Linked DNA regions of Homo sapiens: region 2 is linked to region 1. The links are contacts of gene promoters, found by promoter capture Hi-C in blood cells and fetal thymus (Javierre and others, 2016). All regions are on one chromosome and are shown on one strand. The core of a region is centred on a gene start or on the middle of the fragment in contact, and the rest is flanking DNA. Distances in the headings are between cores, read along the strand shown. Region 1 holds the start of KCNU1 (potassium calcium-activated channel subfamily U member 1). Region 2 has its middle 110 kb from the start of UNC5D.

Region 1 (6,694 bases), core at 1,293-3,792:
CAGGCCTAACCGTCTGACTGCAGGAAATTCTTCCTTTATCACATCCTGCCCTGCAGCGACCCATACTGCCCCACCTCTCCTGTCGGGACCTACAACTGCTCCAGTCTGTAAGCGGGGCTTGGGCTCCAGCGCTGTCTGGTGTTCCCCTTCTGCAAGTCTTTGTCCAATAAACCTGTGTTGCTGTTGAGCGACCTCCCCTTGTCTCTGTTTCTTTTCTCCATCCTAACAAACAGTAAATAGTAAAAGGGAAGAAAATAAGAAAATTAAAGTGATAATGATAGATAAAAGGGAGAATACTAAGTAAAGGATGTGGATGAATTTTGGCTTGGAAAGTCTGATCTTGTCCACATAGCTGTAAGTGTGTGTGTGTGTGTGTGTGCGCGCGTGTGTGTGTGTGTGCGTGCGCACACACACATATGTGAAAGAGATAAACAAGTGATTTCTCCCTCCCTCCTTCCCTTCCTTCCTTCCTCCCTCCCTTCCCTCATTCCTTCCTCCCTCCCTCCCTCCGTTCATTCCTTCCTTCCTTCCTTCCTCCCTCCCTACCTCCCTCCCTACCTCCCTCCCTGCCTCCCTCCTTCCTTCTTTCTCTCCCTCCTTTCCTTTACTTCTTCCTCCTCCTGTCTTTATAATTAATGCCATTCAAAAAAGGAACTGAAATGGCTAATGGCATCTTATATTGAGTTTTATGCTTTTCAAAATATGTTCACACTACCTTCTTGAATCCCCACAATAATTCTATCAAGTAGGTATTATCTTCCACATAAAATCAAAAGACTACGAACATTAAAATGACTTGTTAGAAATCACACAGTAACTTAATAGAAGGACTGGGCTGGAACGCAGGGCTCCTAACTCCTAGACCAGTGTTCTTTTAAACATCGCCCTTTGTTATTAGCTAGCTCAATGACAGGATTTTGTAGAAATGATAGGTAAGCTTAAAAGCAGGAAATGTAACTGTGGCAGCAGTCCTAGGAAATGCTACAGTTATCTTCTGAAACAGCCTGCCAAACAGTGTGGAGTCATGGCGGGCTCCCAAGGACAGCGTGATGATTCCTCTTGGGCCTCTTCACCTGGTGTCAGGTTATCTTGGTAATAACTGGGGTGAACTAGGCCCTCCACTGGGCTCTGACATTTTGCCTGCCACTTGTGCACACTGAAAGGCATGACATTTCTTACACCTTTGAAAACATCAGGGAAAATCAAAGAAATTTCTCTCATTCTGAACTTTACCTCTGCTGGGCCAAAAGGTTTGCTGCCAGGGCAGTAATAAAAGCAAGAAAGGGGAGAGTTCCATAAAGAAGAGATAAGTGGAATGGATTTATGGGCTGAAATAACAATCAACCAATGACCACACTAGTTAAATTGTCTTCTTCAATACCTGCACTCTATACTATGCCTTTCTTATGTAAAGAATAAACAAAACCTTTTTTTTTCTGTTTCAAGATAATCTTGATTTTCATTGTGTGTAATTAAGGAGTACAACGTGATATTCTTTGGATTGATGCACAGCAGATACACATATTTTCAAGTCACGTGATAATTTAATACATTCACATAATTTGTGTACTTGGGATATCAATCAACTTACATATTTGTATTTTCTTTGTGCTAGAAACATTCAAATTTTTCTCTTCTAGCTATTTTTAAATGTACAATAGATTATCATAAGCTATAGTCACTTCACTGATCTATAGAACATTAGATGTTATTTCTTCTATCAAACCAAATATTTGTACCCATTAATCAACTTCTCTTTATCCAACTTCTTTCCTCAGCCACCCTTCCCGGCATCTCGTAACCATGAATCTACTCTCTATCTTTATGAGATCCACTGTTTTAGCTTCCGCATACAAGTACAAACGCAAAATGCTCTTTTGATAAACTTATGCATAGTGAAGCAGTGACTACAGTCAAGCAAATTCATATATCTATCATCTCACAGAGTTAATCATCTTTTGTGTGCGTGTAACAAGAGCCCTTAAAATCTACTCTTTTAGCAAAAATCCTGAATACAAATAATTTTATTAATTATGTTCTTTGTTCTGCACACTAGATCTTCTAGACTTATTCATTCTGCATATCTGCTCCTTTGTATAAAGGATAAACAAAAACTTTAAAGTACTTCTCTCTTCTGTCCTTCCAAGCCTACTAAGCACGTGGCATCCTCCCAGATAGAGAACCAACTCATTCACACACATAGTTGGCTGTTGTTTCACTCCGAAAGAGTTGATTTGAAATTATTTGACTGCATTAACTGAACTGATAACCAGCTGATCATTGCTACAGATAATGGGATTTCTTCAAGGCATAGAGAAAGTCGTAACAATCCGATCTAGAATTATGATTTTTTTGACTATTCATATTGTAGGCCCCAGCCATCTCCAGTTGTGTATTCATTCACAACCCATGAGCTGGCACCGGGGGATTGGCAGACCCTTGTTCCTGGAACTTCTCACTGGTTATCACGCCTAATGTTGGAACACTGTGGTACAGTGAACTCTGATTCCTGGAATTGTTACCAGGCGACCACGGCGTCATCAAATGACCTGGCAATTCCGTCTACTGATGTCTCGAACATGTTTCAGACTAAGCTACGAAATGAAACTTGGGAAGACTTGCCAAAAATGTCCTGCACAACTGAGATCCAAGCAGCATTCATTCTCTCTTCCTTTGTGACCTTCTTCAGTGGACTCATCATCCTGTTGATCTTCAGGCTGATCTGGAGATCTGTTAAAAAATGGCAAATCATCAAGGGAACAGGAATTATCTTGGTCAGTTTCCTTGTTAGGGATCCCTCTGTGTGAAGTCAGAGATGAGTTTGGGGTAGTTTTGTGTTTAGTAAAAGATCTAAGCTTCATTCAGTTTTTCAAGCTAACAGAGTCAGCTTCTATAGCCTGGTGCCTCAGAAAGGGTGGTAAGCCAGACCTCAGGCCACATTCTGAGGCCTGAAGAGACAGGGCCAAGCCTCTTCTCTCTCCCATCACTGGAAAAAGCAATGTCTTGTATGGATAATGATTAATGTTAGCTCTGGAAACAGAGGTCACTGTTCTGAAAAAAAGTTCATAAACATTATGTCCATGCCTCTATCTCGAATTTTAACAAGACAATTGTGCTAGGTCATAGAAAGGAGGTGAAAGGGAACAAGACATCAACATCAACCTTGCTTTCATAAATTGTTCATGCATAATGCATATGTACTGACGTGTACATTGCCTTTTGTATACCATATGAAGACAACACATTGAGTTGCACATACACAGAGAAGCCCATGCATACATGCCTGTGCCATCCAGGCATAGATGCAAGGACATTTCTTATACCCAAACAAGCTTAGCAGGAGTTGATGTTGTTGAATAACAGCTGGCAAATGATGATGATGAGAATAAATGATGTATTATACAGATAAGGCATTGCTTAAGAGCTTGAAATAAAGCTCTCAAATGCTGTGTAATGGATGTTCTATTACCAGAGGTCAAAGGTGAAGAGTTTTACTATACCCTGTGTAGTTTGTTTCCAATTTTGCTTCCCAAACTTTCTTTCTCTGATAGATTATAGCAATTTCCATAACACAACACATTTCACCTGTGCATCATAATATTGAAAATTTGCTTAAAACATTTCTTTTAGTGCTAAAACCTACATAAAATATAATTCATAAATTGATAAGTTTTTAAAGTTATTGGTAATATGGAATTTTGTTTTCCATATTTGAAAATTATCCAATACTGAAGCTTATAGATTTTGTTCCTAAACAAGTTTATTCTATTGATTATTTCTACATTATGGATTTTAAGCTGTGGCACAATAATTGGAGAAAGAATTCTGGGATACTGACATATGGGTAAATAGCTATGATGGATCTGCCTCCTTGTTTCTACCTTGTTTTGTTGTTGTTAATGCACAACTGAATTTGTAGGATTTTTAAATCTTCTTAGTCTTCTGCTCCAGGCAATGTTCTTCTTCTCCATTATGTTCATTTTGTGTGATTACAAAAATGTGACAGTACATTTGTCAATTTCCTATATTTTTCATTTCTTACTTTGGGTGTAATTTATGTCTACACTTCGATCCAGGTATACCCTTTAATTACAAATATTTAGCAAATGTTACAAAATGTTAAGAAGTGAGCCTGAGCAACCAGAATGCTGTACCATTCTGCTTTTGAATCTTGAGGAAAGAGTTTGATCAAGTTGAGTTACTTTTCAATGATTTGTTTTATTACATCAAATTAAGAGTGACCTGTTTTTCTCTAAGCCTTTGGAGAAGTTGGACAAATGCAAAAAAAAAAAAAAATCAGAAATCTAGGTGTACTGTGAAGAGTTATTTTAAAAATTATTTGGAGAGTTACAATTTCTCTCCTTAAATGTGCATTTAAAACATGTATTACATCTATAAATATGAGTTTATTATATCTTAGGACCAATTTGTTTTTCCACAGAAGGTAGCTCCAATTTTATGATGGAATTCAAATGAGTATTCTATATTAATGTCATACCTAGGATTTTTTAAAATTAATTCTCAGACAACATTTAGAAACCGACATGAGTCATGTTTATTAGAGGGCAAATCATTGATCAGGATGTGAACTTTTATCAAAGAGTTTTTTAATGAGACTTCCCTTTTTATCATTCAGAAAATATGAGTAGAAAAATTAAGTGATTTTGAAATCCTGGCTTCATATAAAATGAGCTTTTTTGAAAGTCAGAGGGACTCATCTAGCTTGGTGTGGGTAGTCCTAGTTGGTTTGTGTATTTCTTTGTGGTGGTTCTAGACTATTATCAACAAACAATGAATGCCAGCTCAGGCCCCAGCCTTTCCTCATTGCCTGATATTAGGAAAGTCATTTAATTTCTCTATACCTTGGTATCCACATCAATATAAAATGTATTTAGTCATGCCTAACTTTATCATATGAGATTACCGTAACATTTAAATATAATAAGTAAAGACATTCTATAAATGTGAGGAAGGATTATAATTTCAGAATATAACACCAGGCAAAAAACTAAGAGCAACACAAAATTGCTGAAAACTTCCCCCTTCTCTCACAAAATGCGGACACTTAAGTAATCAGCTAAAAAATCAATTTGTAATCTTTTTCTCTTTGTCCACGTATCTTGATGAAAACTGCTACACTTATACCCAGAGCAGAAGGAGGCATGATGCTCCCAATTCTGATCATTGCAATGATGGCAGTTTGAAGGGTCTGGGACCGGGTATACATGAGAAAGACATGGAGGAAGACTGCAGAATTCAGTAGAAAAAAAGCTGTGCAGAAAACCAGGAAAATGCAAACCCAGTAAAATCCGTTTTATGAAATATTGAATAAGCAACTTCAGGGTTCCCTGGTTTGGACAAGGTGGAGTGATTTTCGACTGATACCATCACAAGAGGCTCCATCAACGTAAGTAGAACAGATTTCTTTCTCTCAGATCCAGCTCACATTGTCAATTTCTTTCTCTTGATTGTAGGAACTGTTCACATCAGGTACCATCGCTAGGAGCCATGTAAGAAGCCTCCACTTCCAGGGACAATTTCGTGATCATATAGAAATGTTGCTTTCAGCCCAGACCTTTGTGGGGCAAGTGTTGGTAAGTACATTTTCAGTGTTAGCTTGCTAACAAACTTTAGCCATAGGTGTGATTATAGTCAGCACAAATCAATTGATTCCCTAGGTAAACAACTGACGTTCCTTTGGTCGTCTTATCTATAATATCACCACCTCCCCATCCCCATCTCCTTGTGTCTACCACTCTTTACCCGTTATCTTGCTTTGTTTATCTCTGGAATGAATACGATTACTAATAATTAGATTATATTATTATAATAATTTTATAATATTAATATAAATCATATGATATGTTGTTAATAATGTTATATTATTAATAATGTATAATACATTATCCGTAATAATATGTAATTGTATAGAATATTATATAATTATTAGTAATTATATTCTTACTAATTATAGTTAATTACTAATTATATAATTATATATTTATAAATAGTAATATATATTGACTAATTATATATTTATAATTATATAATTACTAATTATGTATTATAATCATATTTTATATTTATTTTCAGTCTTTCCACTAGGAAGAAAGCTTTGTTAGGGCAATATTTGTGAGCGTTTGGTTCTCCTTATATATGCAGATGGGTGTGCACATAGATATTTTCAAAAAATGTTTAGTAAACTAATCAGACCTGAAATGTATAGCTAGTTTCCTCTCCTTTGATTTCAATAGACTCTTTATTTCATTATGCAAACTAGCCTTTAGTGTCCCTCTATGATATTTATCACTCTACTTCCTATTTTAATCTCGGTAATTTGAATGTATTAAATCTCACTTTGGGCATCATCTTCTCGGGGCATCCTAACCTTACCTCTTTATTAGGCTAAGAGTTCCTCCTCTAGCTTCTTTAATAATCGTTGAGCATTGCTATTAAAATTATCTGTGCACATGCTTGTCTCTCCCAGAGTACAGTGAGCTCCTGTCTAGACTATGTCATGGAAATGTTTATTTCCCATTGTCAGGAAATAGCAGATGCCCTATAAATGAAGATTGCCCTGATCCTCCTTTCAGTAGTGTAGTTTGATCTAAAATATGAAAAGATGAAATTTGTAATTAGGGGTATGCTGCCATCAGTTGGTCTTATGGTGGAAGTAGTTTCATGTGAGCTAAAG
Region 2 (6,492 bases), core at 747-3,246, 1.7 Mb before region 1:
GAATAAATGAAGTCCCAATGAGAAAAGCAAAGTCTATTTTTTTCAGAGCTTGCTATGCCAAAGGAGTCAACCACCGTCACTTGTGTTTAAGCAGCGACTCAAAGTAGACGAAGCAGTGGTGAAGCTTCATGATGGGTGAGGATAGGTAGGCTTCAGATGTGCGCTGATTGGAGGCTATTGGCATGGGAGAGCTGTGGGTGGGCTTATCAGAAACAGGGCATCCTATTTCATTGGTTAAGGGTGCATATTTGGCTTTCTCTGGTTGGCCCTAGGTTGGAAGTAGAGACAAGAAGTAGGAAAACTGTCAGTTATTAATCAAGCCCTGGCCATCGTGGGTCAATTGTTACAGAAGTTACTGTGCAGCTTCCTGGATTGTTACTAGAGAGAGCAATCTGGCTTCCTGTAAATCTGACTTACAGCATGCTGGCTTGTTGGGCCGTTGACTGAAGATAAGGAGGTTTCATTTCCTGATCAGGTTGCTTCAGGTCATTTTTTTACAGGACCTGGTTGTTACCCATTTCTGCGTTCAGTCTCTCTTTCTTCTTGTCAACTTTTTATCTCCTTTTCTCCAAATCTTTTTCTCACTTTTTCTAAATCTTCTCTTTATATTTATGTATTTTCTTAGGGCCCAGTAAAAGTTAGGGAAGGGCAATGTGAAATGTGGTGAAGATTCAACTTATAAGGCAACAGGTTTTGTTCATTCACATCAAGCTCTGAAAATCTCTCATCTTAAAGGATGGAGAATTTGGTCAATTTAGTGATCCTAAATGTGCAATAAAGTTTGTTTTTATGAACAATTATTAAATGCCATGGTGTTATTTGGCTATATTCAAACACAACATTAAATCATTTTCTGTACAAGTCTCCCAGAAAATAGAAAACTTAGAGTCTGCAAACATAATTCAGTATTTTCTGGATGTGAGATTGAACTGAGCACACTTCAGTTTCTCTTCTCTGGACTTGCCAACACATGGAACTATTTTGAGATGAGGCAGCAGAAAAAAATTCATGTAGCCTCCAATATGTACTTCTAAAATATTTTATCTTTTTCATTTTAGGGACTCGGAATGGAGCTTAAATGTGGCCATTTGGCCTAACAGTGTTTCCTATTTGAAGATGCATTCAGATCCAAAAATTAGACTTAAAAAAAAAAAATGGGTGTTGGCAGCTGCGGTGGCTCACGCCTATGTAATCCAGCACTTTGGTAGGTCGAGGTGGGTGGATCATTTGAGGTCAGGAGTTTGAGACCAGCTTGGCCAAAATGGTGAAATCCCATCTCTACGAAAAATACAAAAATCAGCCAGGCATGATGGTGCATCCTGTAGTCCCAGCTACTTGGGGATACTGAGGCAGGAGAATCACTTAAACCCAGGAAGCAGAGGTTGCAGTGAGCCGAGATCATGCCACTGCACTCCAACCTGGGCAACAGAGCGAGACCCTGTTAAAAAAATAAAAGTGGGTGTTTTCTGTCTTTCTGGAAAATTACCAACTGGAGCAGTAAACCAAAGTGAGCTAGTGAGCATCAAGAGAAAGAAACTTGTTTAGATTAAGAGGTAGAGCTAATTTTTTATAGTACCCCTGATCTTGTGTAAAGAAGATCTATAATCAAAGAAAATATTTTATATTTTTTGTAGGTTTGCTAAATTTGTGGATCATACTTTATTATAATACATGAAATTTATTATTTTTGCACTTATTTTTATTTTCTTGAGACAAGGTCTCGCTCTTTCACTCAGGCTGGAGTGCAGTGGTGTGATCACAACTTACTGCAGCCTTGACCTCACAAGTTCAAGTGATCCTCTCACCATAGCCTCCTGAGTAGCTGGGACTACAGGTGTGACTCACCATGCCTGGCTAATTTTCTCATATATTTTGTAGAGATGGAGGTCTCGCTATGTTGCCCAGGTTAGTCTTGAATTCCTGGACTCAAGTGATCCTTGGCTTTCCAAAGTGCTGGGATTGTAGGCATGAGCTATCATGCCCAGCCGAAATTTATTTTTAATGGCATTCTTCCTCTCTTCTGGAATTTTTAAAGCCAATTAGGCATTGACATTGTTAGCTGTGAACATCTGCAGCATCTCCTCTGATCTGCTCTTTACCCAGCATAACACAGGATTTTTCCAAGGGAAGTGAGTATTGCCTTGGGTCTGTAAATCCAAGGAGGAGGGAGATAAGTTAGGCACCAGATCACAACAGTCTCCTACTGAACAAATGTACTTGAGAATAGCATTTTGGAAGGTGATCCAGCTGTGCAAGCTGAATCATTTTTCACAGCAATTTTACTAATGCTTCTCACCCCGAATTTTAAAAGCCTGATGAGTCACACTGAATGGCCAACTGCTTACATTTTCAAGCAGAACAGAAAAGCATTTACATACATAGGCACAATACATTACTAGATCAACCAAATTAACTCCTACTTGTATAACCCTTCAAACACCACACAGACAAAATAAATGGTCATTTAACCAGTAGGATCACTGGCAAATGTAACATTAAAATGTTGATTATTCTATTCCATCTCATTTTGTGCCTATGTTGTTCTTTCATGAAAGTAGTTAACCAACACCCATAAATCTGAAGGTGAGCAAAGGACGAAGTTAGGTTTCCTAATATGCTAAAATAATATCCGTATGAGATGAGACATTTTCCTGGCACAGCTTACAAAGAAAACATGCTTCCTTTAACTTAAAAGAGGAAGGGAGTGGACTAAATACTCTGTGGATGGTGCACTGAGTCTAGAAAATCTTCAGCCTTATGAGAACCAGGTTTGTATGAGGCAACTTAAAGTCTTTTATAAAGAAATAGTAATATTACTGTGTTCGAAAGGAGGAAGCAGCTTGTTCCTGTGGCCATTCCATAGCATTAGGATCATCACTCATCAGTTATGGTACATGGTACTTTTAGTCTTCAGAACATTTGGTGCATTTTATCAAATTTTCCACACATCACTAGAAGGCACAGTGGCCTATAACATCCTGTTTGTCACACAGTACTTTTGAAAGTGTCTAGGGATTCTATTTATTGGATCATCAATGATAGGAACAGAACATCTATATTTATCATCATCTCTAAAAGAACAGGGTCAGTTATTTGCCCAAGACTTGAAAGTATTTTTTATAATAATCTCCAATGAAAAGATGTGATCATTTTCCATATTCTACTTCTTATGGGCATGTAATACTTCATCACTGTGTCCTTTGCTCTGTACCCAAATCATGTTATGTGCTGTGTCATCAAACACCTAGTATGGCGTCTGACCACCCATACTCCATGTTTACGAATAATGATATCACATAAACAGGACAATGGAAATGAAATGCTAGGTAATACTATTGCAGAATCTGATAATCCGAGAGTTAAAGGCATCTTGAGGAATCACACATTCTAATGACATACCCCTTATACCAACGCTTGAACATCTCCAGCAATAGGTAACTCACTACCCTAAGTAGCATGAGGAGATGTCAAGTTCTGAAGCTGTTTGGGAACAAGGATATGAACACGCATGAAAAGGTGAGAGACAAGTCTTGACCCTTTCAAGGTTGAGAAGTAAAACTGAAATTGCCATATAAAATATGAACCTTTGTAGACCTATAGACTTAGCAAGTGGGTATACTAGGGAAACAAAACAGGCACAACAATAGGAAGAGTCACTGAAGTTTGGTTGGTTTTATATTCACTTGTGTTTGTGGTCTTCTATGGTTTGTTTATTTTATTTTGGCTTGGCTTGTATGTTGAAAAAAGCACCCCTCACTAAGAATTTATAAAAAATGCATTGGGGATTTAAATTTTTTATACCTGAATGGCTCAAGAACACCTATTTCCAAGCTAATGAAAAATACTGCTTGACCAATGACAACTCTGGGAAGCTTAGTATAAAATACAAAACCTCACAAGCATCTCTAATGAAGCCACCTAAACAGCCTTGACAATCTCAACAACAAATCATTTCATAAACCAAAATTATAAAACACATAAGGAAATAATCTATTCTAAGTGAAAGAGAGAGCTATTAAAAATTGTTTTAAAACTCTAAGATCTTTGTGTCTTTCTGGAAGAGGGAACAATATAAATTGTTTAATCTGAAAAGTCAAGCATACATGTTAAAAACTTAAGGGTTACTAAACCAACAGAAATAACAATATTTACTAAATTATTACGGAGAGAATATATAACACTAAATCAGTGACAGTAAGTAAGAAAAAGAAGAAAACGCTAAAGGATAGAGAAAAGGGGAAACATGGAGCACCAAAAAGCAGGTTAAAAAAAAAAAAGCACAAATAAGATGGAAGACATAAATCCAAACATATTAAGAATCAGTATAGAAGATAACATTTCTGAGAAGATGAAGCGTTTTCTCTCTATTTTTACCACTATTTATAACTAAGAACTGTGGATGTTATATATAAAATAAATAAAAGAAAATTCTGAAAGACGGAGAGAAGAAGAAAATGTGCTAAAGCCCTCAGCACATAAGGAACAGCACGGTAGTGACTTCCCTGAGTCGTCTTTTTTGCTGCTTATATCCTTCACTTAGAAATGAAGTAGCTAGCAACCAAGAAACACTAACAAGTGCAGAGAAAAAGAGCCCAAAAGAGCCTGCACTGCCTTTAATCAAAGGACCAGGAAAGCAAGAACCTACAAAGACAGACAACTTTCAAAAGATAATAACTCAACTCCAGTTGTAACCAGAACCAATTTCAGCTACTCACCACTCAAAAGCCAAACATGAGAAACAAGGGTTGGTAGGAGGAAACTCAAGTTTAATAGGAAAGTTAGCAAACCAAGAAGGTGGTGAGCTAGTGTTCTAAAGAACCACCTCAAATTTAAAAATTTATCATAGGTTTTTTAAAGGGAAACTTGGTTTGGGAGACATGCAGGAGTGGTGCAGGGTGCCGGGGCTGTGTGACTTAGTTCTGTTGGCTATCTTGGATAATTACCCATCTGGAAGTCTGGTTGGCATTATCTTGACTTCTACCCCATGGTGATGGACTAATTGTGACTCTCCCTAAGCAAGTGGATTCAGCAGTCAGGGCTCCGTGCGTGATTTGTTTCAAGATTAGCCTCCAGAATTTCTTAAGCAAGAACATAATTAGATAAGTATGCATTGCCAAAGGGGAGTATCTGGAGAAGGAAGGAACAAAGGAGTGAAAGGGGAGGAAAGGAAGAAAAAGAAACTAGGTGATTAAAATATATTTTTAAAACTGAGGTCCCCAGTTACACAGTCAAACATCACAGAAAACACTATAACCAAACTCCCATTCATATTAGCAAAGGTTGAGAGGGGAACCTAGACTTCCACCCTCATGATGCTTTAGGAAGGTGTTCCAACACCCCTGTCAGTAATGCAAGAGATAGTCAAGAGGGAGCTGGGACTTTCAACTCTGTGGACCAGTACCAAGACCTCCACCCATGAAGTATCAGAAAAGACTACGTGGAAAACCTGGATTTCAATACTCACCCAAAACTAACAAGGAGCCCCAGTCCCTTTCTTTCCACTGGGGTGGCATCAAAGGAGGCCTACTGGAGAGTCAGGAGTTCCCCTATTGCCCACAAGGAGGCTCCCCTACCCACAAATGTCAATGGATGATGAGTGAGGACCCTGGACTACTACCTCCTCCTAGCAATAATAAGGCAGTGCCTTCCCTGCCCTGCCAAAGCAGTATTGGACAAAGCCAGCTGCAACAGAAGGTTAAAATAAGAAAAGGAGCCTTGTAACACAATATGAAAATATCCAAGTTTAAATGGAAAATCACGAATCATACCGGAAAATCACGAATCATATCAAAAAATCACAAGAAACTCAAAGGAGAAAAAAAAGGCAATTAATATATAACACCAAGATATCAAAAAATAGTAGAATTATCTAACAAGGATTTTAAAGCAGATATCATAAAAATGCTTCAATAAGCAATGAAAAAAATGATGGAAACAACTGAAAAAAAATCGAGAGCCTCAGCAAAGAAATCAAAAGACTAAACAAAGTAATAGAAGATACATTTTTAAAAGACGCGAAAGTTAAATTTTAGAACTGAAAATACAGTAACCAAAATAAAAATGACTGGGTTCAATAGGAGAATGGAGAGAACAGAGGGAAAAATCAGTGACCTGAAGACAGATCACTAGAAATTATCCAATCTGAACCAGAGAGAGGAAATAAACTAAAAAAAGTGAAGAAGCAAACAATCTGAAAGACATGTTGGACTATAACAAAAGAGTCTTCCTACGTTTGTTTTATATATAATGCCCAATGCGTCTAGTTGTACTTAGTGGGAGGCATCGGGAAAAGTGTATCTACACCATTTTCCTACAACAGGAAGTTCTCTAGATTTCCTTGAGTCTTCTCATCTCCTGGAATAAAGTGTATGTAACCAAGAGAAATTAATAGATACAGAGCAGCTTAGTATTCTCCCAGTCTGTTTACTAAATTTGAATTTCTTTTCTCCTATGTTTCTGATGCCTCACAAAGAGCAAATTGGAGGCCAGGCA

The links. The method cuts DNA at HindIII sites, captures the fragments that hold promoters and counts their contacts. A CHiCAGO score of 5 or more calls a contact.
Region 2: a fragment that was not itself captured here is called in contact with the fragment with the promoter of KCNU1 in region 1 in 1 of 17 cell types (M2 macrophages); the score reaches 7.9 in M2 macrophages.

What each region holds. Positions count from the first base shown.
Region 1 is chr8:36,781,832-36,788,525 of GRCh38, forward strand. KCNU1 (potassium calcium-activated channel subfamily U member 1) reads left to right here and starts at 2,543. Exons shown (of 27, transcript NM_001031836.3): 1 at 2,543-2,774; 2 at 5,475-5,594. The coding sequence starts at 2,580. The HindIII fragment of the contact is 1,918 bases long and covers 936-2,853 here.
Region 2 is chr8:35,118,135-35,124,626 of GRCh38, forward strand. No RefSeq gene overlaps it. Among named protein-coding and RNA genes, the nearest start is that of UNC5D, 110 kb to the right of the region's middle. The HindIII fragment of the contact is 3,748 bases long and covers 123-3,870 here.